Regions from separate parts of the Homo sapiens genome. Here regions 1, 2 and 4 are each linked to region 3. The links are contacts of gene promoters, found by promoter capture Hi-C in blood cells and fetal thymus (Javierre and others, 2016). All regions are on one chromosome and are shown on one strand. The core of a region is centred on a gene start or on the middle of the fragment in contact, and the rest is flanking DNA. Distances in the headings are between cores, read along the strand shown.

What was found. The method cuts DNA at HindIII sites, captures the fragments that hold promoters and counts their contacts. A CHiCAGO score of 5 or more calls a contact.
Region 1: a contact is called between a fragment that was not itself captured here and the fragment with the promoter of PPFIA4 in region 3, in 2 of 17 cell types (M2 macrophages and M1 macrophages). The highest score is 8.2, in M2 macrophages.
Region 2: a fragment that was not itself captured here is called in contact with the fragment with the promoter of PPFIA4 in region 3 in 3 of 17 cell types (M2 macrophages, M0 macrophages and megakaryocytes); the score reaches 7.0 in M2 macrophages.
Region 4: a contact is called between the fragment with the promoter of MYBPH here and the fragment with the promoter of PPFIA4 in region 3, in 2 of 17 cell types (M0 macrophages and M2 macrophages). The highest score is 6.5, in M0 macrophages.

Annotation. Positions count from the first base shown.
Region 1 is chr1:203,236,014-203,239,350 of GRCh38, reverse strand. No RefSeq gene overlaps it. Among named protein-coding and RNA genes, the nearest start is that of CHIT1, 8.0 kb to the right of the region's middle. The HindIII fragment of the contact is 4,451 bases long and covers 1-3,337 here.
Region 2 is chr1:203,218,529-203,221,590 of GRCh38, reverse strand. It overlaps CHIT1 (chitinase 1), which reads left to right. Exons shown (of 11, transcript NM_003465.3): 8 at 1,742-1,927; 9 at 2,262-2,375. Among named protein-coding and RNA genes, the nearest start is that of CHIT1, 9.6 kb to the left of the region's middle. The HindIII fragment of the contact is 4,475 bases long and covers 1-3,062 here.
Region 3 is chr1:203,025,142-203,028,462 of GRCh38, reverse strand. It overlaps PPFIA4 (PPFI scaffold protein A4), which reads right to left and starts at 1,972. Exons shown (of 30, transcript NM_001304331.2): 1 at 1,834-1,972. RefSeq lists an enhancer at 1,525-2,046 and a silencer at 1,873-2,182. The HindIII fragment of the contact is 10,467 bases long and covers 1-3,321 here.
Region 4 is chr1:203,174,045-203,177,148 of GRCh38, reverse strand. It overlaps MYBPH (myosin binding protein H), which reads left to right and starts at 1,323. Exons shown (of 11, transcript NM_004997.3): 1 at 1,323-1,598; 2 at 1,688-1,822; 3 at 2,552-2,719. The coding sequence starts at 1,394. RefSeq lists an enhancer at 2,659-3,104. The HindIII fragment of the contact is 10,255 bases long and covers 561-3,104 here.

The DNA of each region.
Region 1 (3,337 bases), core at 43-2,542, 210 kb before region 3:
ATATAGTCGTTTGAGGTTAGAAAGTCAGAATCGCTGGGAGCTGCCCACTCTGATTTCTCTGAGTTCCTTCTTTTTTTATTTTGGTCTTTCCTGTGGGGACTCTTTCCTCGAATGTCTAGTCACCAGGCTTTTGGTTCCATATGAGTCAACAGAAGCCCACTGGAAGCTCTAGAGGCTTGGTGGGCTTCTTATCCAAGGTCCCCACCTTCGGGTGATGGAGAAGAACCTGGCTGTTCTGCTGGGGGCCCTCAAATGTCATTTGAGTTTGGTAGTCTGAGTTTTGGTAACTTTTCTCTTAGGCTGGCCAGCTTTTCCTTGAGAGGAATTTTTCAGTCCTCTTACTGGGGCTCTGGGAGCCTAGCGGGGGGAAAGCCTGGAAGTTCTGAGCATCCCATGTACAGACTTTCATTTAATTCCTCAGTCCTTCTTCTCAGTCTTCAGTCTAACACCCTCCCCACCCACTACAGCCCCCACACCATCCTCTGCTGGGCCAGGTATTACTGAGTCTTCAGTCCCTCTGGACCATCCCCATATTTAATGGGGATGAAGAAGATCCAGGGGTCCAACAGGTCACCCACACTTACTGTTGTCAGCTTTAGCCCACTTGGCAACTTTCTGCTGACTCCTGCACATTTTCAGGGTCCTTTGGCCTGAGTTCTCTTTTTTCCTGTGGGCTTCCCCACCTGCAGCCTGATCACCAGACATTTGAGGAAAGAGGCCCCACATGAAAGACCAAGGTTTCAGCTTTTTCAGGTCTGTGAAGCCTGTTTCACCTGTTCATTCTGTTGTCACAAACAGTTTCACCTGTTCATTCTGTTTTCACCTTCCAAACATTTGTTGGCATCTCTTATCTATTTTAATTTCCTCTTCTGTTTGCTTTGTCCTAGTAGATTTATACCATTTTATTCCTTTAACTGTGATTTCAAGGGATTTCAGGAGAGAGTGGAGATAAATACCTATGCTCAATCTGCCACACGAAATGGGTACACCTTGCTTTTTTCCTTTAACAATATATTGAGGACATTTTTGTTTCATTTTAATGACGTATGGAATTTCAGGCTCCAGTTGGTGACACTTAAGGCAGTTTTAGGTTTATGCTATTTTAAGAAATGCTGCAATGGGACATTATTATTGTACAACAATAATTATGTGTAGAAATAAAGAAAGGAGAGAAAAAAGAGAGGGACAGAGAGAAAGGGGGTGAGACAGAGAGAAGGAGGTGGGGAGGAGGGAAGGAGTCCATGCAGAATGTCAGGTATCTGAAGACAGCAGGTCAGGGAGAGGTGTAGGGGTCTGAATGGGTTGTACTTCCAGTCCTGGCCCATATCATGACCTAGGCCTGACTCTCCCCTTCTAGTTCTACTGCCCACTACATGCCAACTGCTTCAGGCTCAAACCTGTTAATGGTGAAAGAAACAACTACCACTGGGATATGGTCCACTGGAAACAGGAAACAGGCTGATGTTTAGACATGCAAGGCCAGAATCCACGTGGCCAGAGAGGATTCAAGGTGCTTTCTGTCCCCAGAGAGTGCCCTGACTCCAGGATATGAGTTTCACCATGACTGAAGCCCACACCAGCCTGCAGCCACTAGCTCCACCTCTGCCTGGGAGCCAGGCCTGTCCAAAGATAACCAAATGGAAAGGGAAGAACCTGGAAACCTCCACTTTAGCTCTGGAAGGCTTGCAAATTCCCTGGCTTCTCTTTCTTCCACTGCAATATGGGGAGCATAGCTTCTGCTAATACATTAAGAGGTCTTAAGGGGTGGTATGCACTTCTCACATCAACCAGCTTCTTACTAAGCACTTGACGTTGAGTTACAAGGGATGTTGAAGGAATAGTATTCAATAATCAACTCATTCAACAGATGTCTATTGAGGTCAGTTCTTTATACAGGCACCTGGTTTTTGGTGCACAGCAATGAACAAAGAGACACGGTCACTGCTCTTGGGGCTTCCAGTCTAGAGAGAGTTACAGACATTAAATACGTAAGCTCACAAAATAAATATGTAATTGCAAATTAGGATAAGGTCTGGGGAGGAAAAATAAACACCTTTTCAGGAGAGAGTAGCAGAACTGCCCTGCCATGGAGAAATACGCAGATATAGGGAAGCCTCTTCAGGAGGTGACAGCAGAGACCAGCCCTGGAGGATGAGAATGAGAAGGAGAACACATCCCAGGCAAAGGGTGCTGTGCCAAGACCCTGAGATTGGAAAAGGCTTGACACACTCACGTTCATGAAATAGAACTGGGGTGCTCAGGGTGGCGTGACCAGCACAAGGCTGAGAGGTAGGCGGGTGGCCTAATGGAAAAACACACAAACTGACTGTATTCTACTATTCTCACACTCACTCTCCATACTTCATTTCTGAGACCAGAGGTGTGGGGATTTCTCTCCACACCCAAACAACTCTCCAGCAGACACCAACAGGGTATCCTATAATTTAATTCCATTCTGACACTATCCATCTGGAGTGAGTCAGATCTACAGGCTGAGGGCTCAGTCCCACAAGGCTGCCCCCACTTCAGAGGCCAATCACAAGTCCCAGGTGGTGAGCTGTGCTTCAATCAAGCAGCTAAAAACTGGGGTTCCCATGACGCCCTTCCTCTGCTCTTCCTCTGCTAGAGCAGCTCACAGAACTCACAAAAACACTTACTTACATTGACCCATTGATTTAAAGGATATTACAAAGGATACAGAGGAGCAGCCAGATGGAAGAGATGCATAGTGCGAGGAAGATGGGAAGGGGCTTGGAGCTGCTCTCCTCTCTCCATGTGTTCAGTAGCCTTGAAGCTCTTTAAACCCCATGGATCATGGATTTTGTTTGTTTGTTTGTTTGTTTGTTTGTCTGTAGAAAGGGGGTCTCACTAGGTTGAGACCTAGTTGTTCAGGAGGTCAAGGTTGTTCAGGCTGGTCTCAAACTCCTGAACTCAAGAAATCCTCCTGCCTCTGCACCCCAAAGTGCTGGGATTTCAGGCATAAGCCACTGCACCCAGCCTAGTTAATGGACTTTTATGCAGGCTTCCCCACATAAGCATGATTACGTGGTCTTCAGCCCCACTCCCCTTCCCAGAGGATGGGGGGTGGAGCTGAAGGTTCCAAACTTCTCATCATGGCTTGGTCTTTCTGGTGACCAACCCCCCTCCAGATGCCCACAAAGAGGCACCTCTTTGGAACAAAAGATGCTCCTAGTACCCAGGAAGTTCCAAGGGCTTAGGAGTTCTGTGTCAAAACTAGGGTCAAAGGCTAAACATTAGAACAAGAGATGCACCTAGAACCCCTATTTCTCAAGAAATTTTAAGGGTTTTAGGAGCTCCGTGCCAGAAATTGGGGACA
Region 2 (3,062 bases), core at 500-2,999, 190 kb before region 3:
GGTATGCAGTGGCATGATCATAGCTCACTGCAGCTTCATCCTCCCAGGCTTAAGCGATCCTCCTGCCCCAGCCTCCTGAGTAACTGGGATCACTATGACCAGCTAATTTTTTTTAAGTTTGTAGAGATGGAGTCTTGCTATATTGCCCAGGATGGTCTCAAACTCCTGCCCTCAATCAATCCTCCTGGCTCAGCCTCCCAAAGTGTTGGAATTATAGGCACAAGCCAACATGCCCAGCCTAGATCCTTTTTATAAGCCCTCTATATATCTTAAAATATAGAGAGGGTTTATAAAACCCTGCAGAGAGGGCTTATAATAACTACATTATTTTTCTTTCTTAAAACAAGCAAAACCAAACAACAAAGAAAAAGCCCTAAATTAAAATGCTTTTTACTTTTGGAGAGCCCACATCTCTGTATGTCAGCTGGAGTGGGACATCTTTGATTTTCTGGCTCTTTCATGAATAAAGAGCACCTCTTTGAGCCAGTGAGCCAGGCACCCACATTTCACACTGAGCCTGGCCTCTCCATCCCTGTCTGGAAGACTGTGTGAGTTTTGGAGGAAGCTGTATCCCTGTGCTGGTGGGGAGACACAGAAAGAAATTTAGCTGAGAGGTGAGTGGGGTGGGAGTCCCTCCAGCACCCTGCTTTCCACATTGTGTACCTTGAATCCACCGAGGAATGGAGGCCATCTTATTCCTACAAAGAGGCCTTCTACTCACCACACAGTGTGCCCGGGGACAGGTTCTAACCAGATGGGTGACTTTTCCCAACTTGCACAAAAGTGCTATAACAGATCAGGAGAAGCCCCGACTTCTGCCTTCAGAAAGCACCCATCTGATCAAAGATAAGTTGTATAGATGGACAAAAAGAAATATATTTAAATAAATGTAGTGAAAGCTGTTCTTTACCTAAGTGCTAAGTGGGCTCAGAGTAACTAGACCTGACAAAACTAGGGCAGCTTCTGGGGGAAAGTGAACCATACTCTTGGCTTAAGGAATGAGGCTTCATTATTCATTAATTTATCATACTTGTACCGGGTACCTTCTCCCGTCACAGGCCTGGGGGTGTTACACCAAGTAATATATAATCAGGGGAAGGCCTTATTCAAAGGTGGGTAAGGAAGCCTTTGTTCTATCTGAGCATCAGGTGTCATTCTAGACACTGAGGATACAGAGATAAATAAAGCAGACCCAATTCCCTGCTTTTGTACTCAGGGTAAAACTAAGACAACAATCATGATAACGATGATGACCACAGCGACCCTTTATTGCGTTGTGCTGACCTTTTACATGCATTATAACCTTTAATTCTCACAATGCCCTAAGAGATGGATATTTTCCTTATTTCCATGTTACAGACAGAACACCAAGGTTCAGTGAGGTTAAATAAGCTGCTGGGTAAGGCAGGGATCTGTGTCTGCCTTGTTCACTGATGTGTCTGAAGCACCATGGACAGCGCCTGGCACACAGTGGGCCATCAGTACACATTTGTTCAGTGAATGGTTGTCTGCGTCCGAAGCCCACGCTCTCTGGTTATCATGCCATGCAGCTTCTTCACTGGGGTCACGGGTCTAAGGCAGGCTCTAAAGAAGATGGGGTAGGGCTGGAATCCTAACAAAGGCCCGTAGAGCTCCAGCTGAGGAGCCCCTGCCCTCCTAGCTCTGCCTCTGGATCCCCCAGACTTAGATAATCAGAACCAGGCTGAGGGCTGAGAAAATTAACCCTGCCCTCTTCCACCAGGATGCTGCTGTGCAACAGTGGCTGCAGAAGGGGACCCCTGCCAGCAAGCTGATCCTTGGCATGCCTACCTACGGACGCTCCTTCACACTGGCCTCCTCATCAGACACCAGAGTGGGGGCCCCAGCCACAGGGTCTGGCACTCCAGGCCCCTTCACCAAGGAAGGAGGGATGCTGGCCTACTATGAAGTAGGAAAACCCATAACCACCCTGGGTATTGTGAGGGTCAGGGGGTGCCTGAGAGAACAGAGGTTTCCTTCTCCCACCGTTTCTGAGTAAGGATGCCAATTGCAGAGAATTCTGGCCATGTAAATTCCATCTCATCCATGCCATCTTGAATTTATCCTTAAGCCCAGGTGCCTCAAGCTGAGTCCAGAATTCTAGGTCACTGCAAAGAACCTCCTGATTCTCCAGGCTTCCTCAGACAGGAATTTTCCAATCTCTAGTCTCCTCCTGGTGAGGAAGGGAAGGTGCCTGCAAGAGCCTCCCTCCTCCTCCCCAGTGCTGCCTTCTGCTCCCACAGGTCTGCTCCTGGAAGGGGGCCACCAAACAGAGAATCCAGGATCAGAAGGTGCCCTACATCTTCCGGGACAACCAGTGGGTGGGCTTTGATGATGTGGAGAGCTTCAAAACCAAGGTGAGGCCCAGCTCTGCTGGCAGAGGGGTGGTCCTAGTGAACAAGTCCTGTCAATGACATGGAATGAGGACAGTTCAGGACCTCAAGGGTGAGTCTCCTTTAAATGTCCCAACATTTCATAAATCTCCACGTGATAGTATTTTGTACCTTTACTACCTATTGACTCAGAAAAGACAAAATGACAAAAAATTGCTCTACATTTAGTAGCACTCTGGAAAGTATTTCTATTTTATTAAATACCATACAAATTCTACAGACATATGAAGAGGAGAAATACACATGGTGAGACATATAGCTTTCTTCAGCCCATTGGCAATATCTGGTGCATGTCCAAATTACAGACCTTTTGCTTTACTTATAGGACCCCCTTCTCCTGCCCAATATTGGTGCATTTACCTGGTTTCATGCCATTTTCCCCTGTGAAACTGTTAGCTCCTGAAGACGGATGCTTCACTAGTTTATCTGTACATCCCACATCAACTATCATGTGTGGCTGACAGCGGCAGCTTCTAGAGGTGGACAATTGCAGGGGGGCACGATCCTGGCTGGGGAGATGGGAGAAGGGGTCACGGTGGAAGGGTATTTCAGATAAGTCCTAAAGCATAGAAGGTGGCCATTCTTAGGGGTGAGGGAGCGGGCAACTGCACAAGCAAAGACGCGGGTGCAGAGAAAGTAAAGGCTGGACTC
Region 3 (3,321 bases), core at 723-3,222:
CTCATCACCACCACAGCCTGACTACTCATTCTCTTGCCTAGCTCTAGCTCTGCCATCCTCAGAGGCTCTGTGAGGACCTATAAGCCATCCCTGACAACTCTTTCCAACTCTAAGATTTCAGCAATCAACTCAGAGATGAGACCCAGGAGCCTGGCTGCCTGCCATGCCCTGCCCCTCCAGCCCTCCTTTACAGCCCAGCAGCCAGACCTCATGCACCACACGGTTCTGACATCACGACATGCTCAGCAGCACAAACCCCAACTCCACTGGATGCGAATTCCCTTCTACACCCTCCTCCCCCACACTATTCCATCTTCCAGAGATGGCGTCTCCCACTACACAGAGTGTCTAGGACATTCTTGGCCCCCAATAACCATTTTGTCATTCATTATCTCCTTACTTTGAGATACCGTTTACCCCACGAAGCCTCCTCAAGCCTCAGGACAAAATCTGAGAAAATAACCAAGGGAAATCATTCAAGCTGCCCTTTTGCTTAGGCAGCTTCCCTGGGACTACCTGGCCAGTTAATAGTGGTAGGGGGTGTGTAGGTTGGAGTCTAATTCAGACAGCTGTTTGAAAGCACGTGGACACAGTTCTTTCTTTTTCTAATCCAACAGCAATGTAACAGAATGGGGATGGGCGGTGAGAAGGGTGTTAACAGAATACCTGCTATGTGTGCCTCCTATGTGTACCTTTCAGCTACTCCGTGGCTGTAAATTGCCTTCAGAAGACCTAGCACCGAGCATAGTATCTGGCAGATAGTAGGTGTCCAACAAATGTTTGCTGGATGTTGAGCAAAGTACTAGGTACCAGATCCAAGAACTCTGGAAAGGACTATGGGAAATCCCTGAAACCTGGCTCCTGGAGGGGACCCTTAAGCTCACACCAGGAGGGGATCTCCCTGCGAAGCAGCGCCTCCTTAACCACTTGCTCTCCACACAGAACGGCCCCAACTCTCCTGCTCCTCTGATGGAAACTACCAGCACACCTCTCCTCAAAGGTGACATCAGCTCCTAGTGGCACCTTGTCCTGGATCCCTCCTCCTTCTCGAAGAAAACCACCTACACCATGTCTCCAAGTCCTCCAGCCCGACCTCTCTCTTCCCACCCACCATCAAAACCTCAAAATCTGCGCTGGAAAACATCCCTACTGCGTGGACGTAAGTCAGCGCCCCACTCCCACCCTCCCAGTTCAGGCATCTCTATTCCAGCCCTCTTTTCCTGTTGCGCCCACCCCTGTCCCCACCCCCACCAGGCCTCGGGTTGGCCGCTCCTTCCACCCCACCGCCCTGGCACTGCGGAGATGGGGGCATCTCTGGCACAGACTGAGGCTGGCAGTTCGAGGAATGGAGAGCTAGCGACAGGAACAGGGGTGCTATGAGCAACTCGGGAAAGATTAAGACCCCCGCGAAGAGCGAAGACCTCAGCCCATCAGAATCGCGTCCCCAAAGGAGTGGGGTTGGCCCCGGAGCCGAGAGGCGCTTTTTCTGACTCTCCTGGAGGGGAAATGGGGGCGCAGTCTGCTCCGTTCCCACCGGGAGACTCGCCAACTCGGCCCCCTCCCCTGAAGCCGATGGAGCAGAGGGCGCACTCCACGCCCTCCCCGCAGATCAGGCATCGCCCCTATCCTCACCCCCAAGGGCACAGGGCACCGCAAAGGAGGGCGAGGGGCGGCAGGGTAAGCAGTACCGACGCCTGCCGGAGGTAGCACATACGGAGTCAAAAAGGGCTGTTTCCCGAGGTGCGATAGACGAGACCCCTCCCCAAACTGTCGAGGGGAGCTGGAGATGGGGAAAAGACGCATCCTACCCCAGTCCAGGCTCTGGGCGCTCACCTGCCTGCAAATGCCGAAGGCCAGGCGGCTAGGCTCGGAAGCAGCAGGGAGCCGCCCCCGACCCGTGCAGCCCGACACGTCCTAGAGCCGAGCCGGCGCCGAGGTAGCTGCAGCCTCCGCCGCCCAAGCGCGCGGCCGCGGGGCCCCGCCCCCTTCCTCCGCGGACAACCCCCCCCGGCTCCGCCCCCTAGGCGGGGCTGGGCTGCCGCGACCGAGGCCACGCCTCCCGCCCCCAAGCGCCTCGGGTCCGGGCACGTGACGAGAGCGCCGCTTTGAGGCCGCGCGCCATCTTGGTTCAGCCTAGGAGGTGGCGAAGTGCCAGAGTTTTATTCCGCAGAAGGGTCTCAGGGCCCAGGAGTGCTGCCCACATTCTGCCCCTCCCTCTGAACTCGCCCTTGTTCCTAGTCTAACAGCCCGTTCCCTAAATTGGCCTTAGTCTCGGCCTTGTAATTGTCAAGTTTGTCACCTTTCACGCTTGCTCTCCTGCCCGTTCCTTGCTTTTCCTTTGATCGCACCCATTTTTTAAGTGGGGAAACTTGATATCCGGATACTACATCTGTAGTATGCTCTTCAGTGAATTGTGTCGCTTGCCTTCAGGCACCTGGCTGTTCTAACACTGTTACTACAAAATGAAGGGTTTGTCTATTACATATACATAGTATGAAAACAAGTCTCAAATGCCAAAATTCCTGACTGACAAATTTTAGCTAAGCCTCTCCATTTTCCTGAATTGCTCCCTTACCCTGCCCCCTGTGGCTATTAATGCATCTTTTCCATCTGCTTTGTGAAGTTTCATCACAGTGCCTACTCAATCCTTTACCAATACCCAGTAAGCACCACTAAAAGTGTGAACAATTTTTATATACATGCAATGTGTTCATGTGTGTGTATTTATAGATATATACACAGCATGTTCTATATCAGCAGCAAATGCTATAGTTGAGATCAGTGACACATACAACCTTCTCTCATTTATCTTCCACCCAATATATTCACCATTTGGCATAATTTCCTTGCGTCTCTTTGAAGACAGGGAAATCTTGAGTAATTCTGATCTGAGGGGTGGGTAAGTGAAGCTAAATCTGTGACCCTTGAACAACAGGGCCTTCAACTGCACAGGGCCAGTTGCATGCAGATTTTCTTCCTTCCCCGCCACCCCTGAGACAGCAAGACTACCCCTCCTCTTCTTACTCGTCAGCCTGCTCAACATGATGACCCACTTAATGAACAGTAAATGTATTTTCTCTTCTTTGATTTTCTTAATAACATTTTCTTTTCTCGAGCTTATTATAATAAGGTATATACTACATATACAAAATGCACATTAATCAACTGTTTATGTTATCAATAAGGCTTCCAGTCAACAGTAGGCTATTAAGTTTTCGGGCAGTCAAAAGTCATAGCAGATTTTCAACTGTGTGAGGGTCTGTGTCCATAACTCTCACAGCGTTCAAGGATCAATTTATGTTGCTTGACAGAGCAAAATCA
Region 4 (3,104 bases), core at 74-2,573, 150 kb before region 3:
GGGAGCCTGGTGTTGACTGCATTTGGATTTAATGTAGATGAGACAGATGAGACGCAACATTTCTGTGTGCCTTGCTCTTCTGCTCATCACTGGGTCTGTGAGTAGCTGAAGTTGCTCATTTGACCCCATATTTTGCTTTACAGTTGCATAAACACTCCACAGTTATTTATCCATCCCACTGTTGAGGGACAGCTGTTTTCCCCCACATTTCAACAATTACAAATAACATTGCCATGAACCTTCTTCTCCATGTCTCCTGGGGCATGTGTGGGTGTTATATGAGCGGCACGGCTGGGTCACGGAGTAGGCACCTCATCCATTTTACTAGGCACTAGTAAAACTCTCACATTTTCCAGAGTGACTGCTCCAATACCAGCAATAAAAGTTCTTAATGTTCTCCCTCCTTCCTGACACATGGCATTTTCTGGCTTTCCAGTGATTCCCAGTCTTAACATTTTATCGAACAAATGAATCAATGACTAGAAATCTGGCCATATCTGCCTCCTTTGGCACACTGAGAAAGCCCATGCCCACAGCCTGCTTGGAAGAGTCTAGAAGCTTCAGAGTGCTCTCCTCCACTAGGGCATCTTCCAGATCTGCCTACAACTGCAACCCATCCCGAAGGGCGAGGGGTTCTCTGTAACAGGTGGAAAACTGAGGCCCACAGCAGGCATCAGGGGAGACGAGCTCCTTACCAGCCGCCCAACTGAGACAGGAGCCAGGAGACTTAGTGCCCCTTCCTGGGGTTCCAATGCTGGAGGACCATCCTCTGAGCAGCTCCACCCTCAGCATCTCAATTCCCTCCCTCTCTAGGGCCCTCAGCCTCATACAGCACAGGCGAGAGTCCCTGGGAACTGTGGGAGCCCAGGGAATGTGGACCCCAGAGGCAAAGCTGGGAGTGCTCACAAGGACGATTGTCCCAAACTGTCAGGGCCCCAGCACCCAGTCTGAGAAGCTCTGGGAACAAGTGGCCCCATAGACGCCAGACACACAGAGCCTGAGCTGGGCTCATTCTCCAGATAGAAGTTCTTCCTCCTATTGCCCTGACACCTGGCACGCGGCCTGCTCGATGTCCCATCTCACCCATCTGCGCCCTCCCCCAGCTGGGCACCAGCACCCTGGCTGTTGAAGGCCAGTCGGGGAGATGGATGAGGAAGTGACTCCTCAAGGGGCCCTTGTGGTTCCTCCCCCAGAGCTATTCCTGGCCTGGGCGCCTCTCCACCCTCCAGTCCTCCTGCTTGACCTGACCCCACAGCTGGGAATCGTTTGCTGGGGGTGGGGCAGCCCCTGACTATATAAGCCTGGACCTAGGTGTCCCAGGCACCCTAGAGGCCCAGGCCCCCCAACGGCTGACCCCTGCACACTCCACCCTGGCCCCCCAGCCAGTCCAGCAATGATGGAAAAAAACACCTCCGAGGGCCCTGCCTGCAGTCCAGAGGAGACCGCATCTGAATCTGCCAAGGTGCCCACAGCAGAGCCTCCCGGAGAAGTGGCAGTATCAGAGTCCACCAGAGAAGAGCAGGTGCCCAAGCCGCAGGCCCCTGCCCCACAGGCCCCTACAGCCTCCACAGCCACTAAGCCTGCACCCCCAAGTGAAGGTGACTGAAGGTGGGGCAGGGGGAGGAGGGAGGCAGGCATGTCAGGGGTGGAGGGGAGCTCTTGGCCATGAACCTCTTCATCTCCCCAGATGTCCCCAGTGCCCCACTGCTGCTGACCCTGGATGATGTGAGCAGCAGCTCTGTGACTGTGAGCTGGGAGCCCCCAGAGAGGCTGGGGAGGCTGGGCCTCCAGGGCTATGTGCTGGAGCTCTGCAGAGAGGGAGGTGAGTGCTGGGCTAAGTCTTGCATACACCCAGGGGAGGTTGTCATGGAGGGCTGCAGGGACAAGTGCACAGGCCCTGTGGTTGGTCAGTCTGGGAGAGATACAGAAGGAGGGGATGCGAGCAGTAGGCTCCTCAACCCACCCACCTGCCCTTTCTTGCTCCACCAGCAGGAGAGCAAGAAAGGGTAGGTGGGTGGGTTGAGGGGCTCCCTTGTCCTCAGCTCCAAGGAGCTTCTGAGTAAGGGAAGGGTAAGGGGACACTGGGTTCTCCTTTGGTGAGAAGGGAAGGAAGTGCTAAGTCTCAGAGGACCCCGAACTGTAGGAAGTGGAAAGGGAGGAGCTGGAGAGGGGAATGTTAGCGTAAGAGACAGTGAGGAGAAAGCGGGAATGGGGTGGGGGTGTGGGGGCCACATCCCTGCTGCCACTGTCCCCCTCCATGGCCCAAGTCCAGCCTGGCCTCTGCCTCTGCCCCTACCTTGCTGTGTGACTTTGCAAATGTGTCCAACCCTCTCTGGGCTTCAACAACCTCATCTCTAGCCACAATTTCAGGGCTCTAACATCAGGTGTCTTTGATGCCATTTGACAAGAAGTCAGGGAAGGCAAACAAGGGGAAAATGAGGCCCAGAGAGGGAGGCTGATTTCCCCAGATCACCAGCAGGAAAAGAAGCCCCATGGAGAGGGGCGCCTGTGGCCACATTGCAAAGACCTCACACTCTCTCCATCCCCTCAGCCTCGGAGTGGGTGCCTGTGAGTGCCCGGCCCATGATGGTGACCCAGCAGACTGTGCGGAACCTGGCTCTGGGAGACAAGTTCCTCCTGCGCGTGTCTGCAGTGAGTTCTGCAGGGGCTGGCCCGCCGGCCATGCTGGACCAGCCCATCCACATCCGAGAGAACATTGGTAAAGCCCATCCTGGCCTTCAGCTACCCAGCCCTTCCCAAACACCTTATCTAATGGAGAAACTGAGGCCAGCAGGTAGAGGGAACCAGGCAGTCATTTCCCCCGTCCCACGCTCACATGCACAAGCCACACGCTATCACCATCTTGCCTTAAGAAAGTTCCAGGTTCCTCAGCAGTAAGGGGCCTCTGGAGGTCTAAGAAGCCATTTCCCTGAGTGGTCCAGCCCCCACGCCTTGAGAAAGGGGCTCAGAAACAAAAGGTCAAGTTCCCTGGGTCACCTGCTCAATGCTAAGAGTCCATCTGTTCTATCTCCCATCTAATCTCAATCTCTCCAGTGGCCATAAATGCTCATTTTCTGCCCATTTCCTGTGGCCTGGGTTCCAGA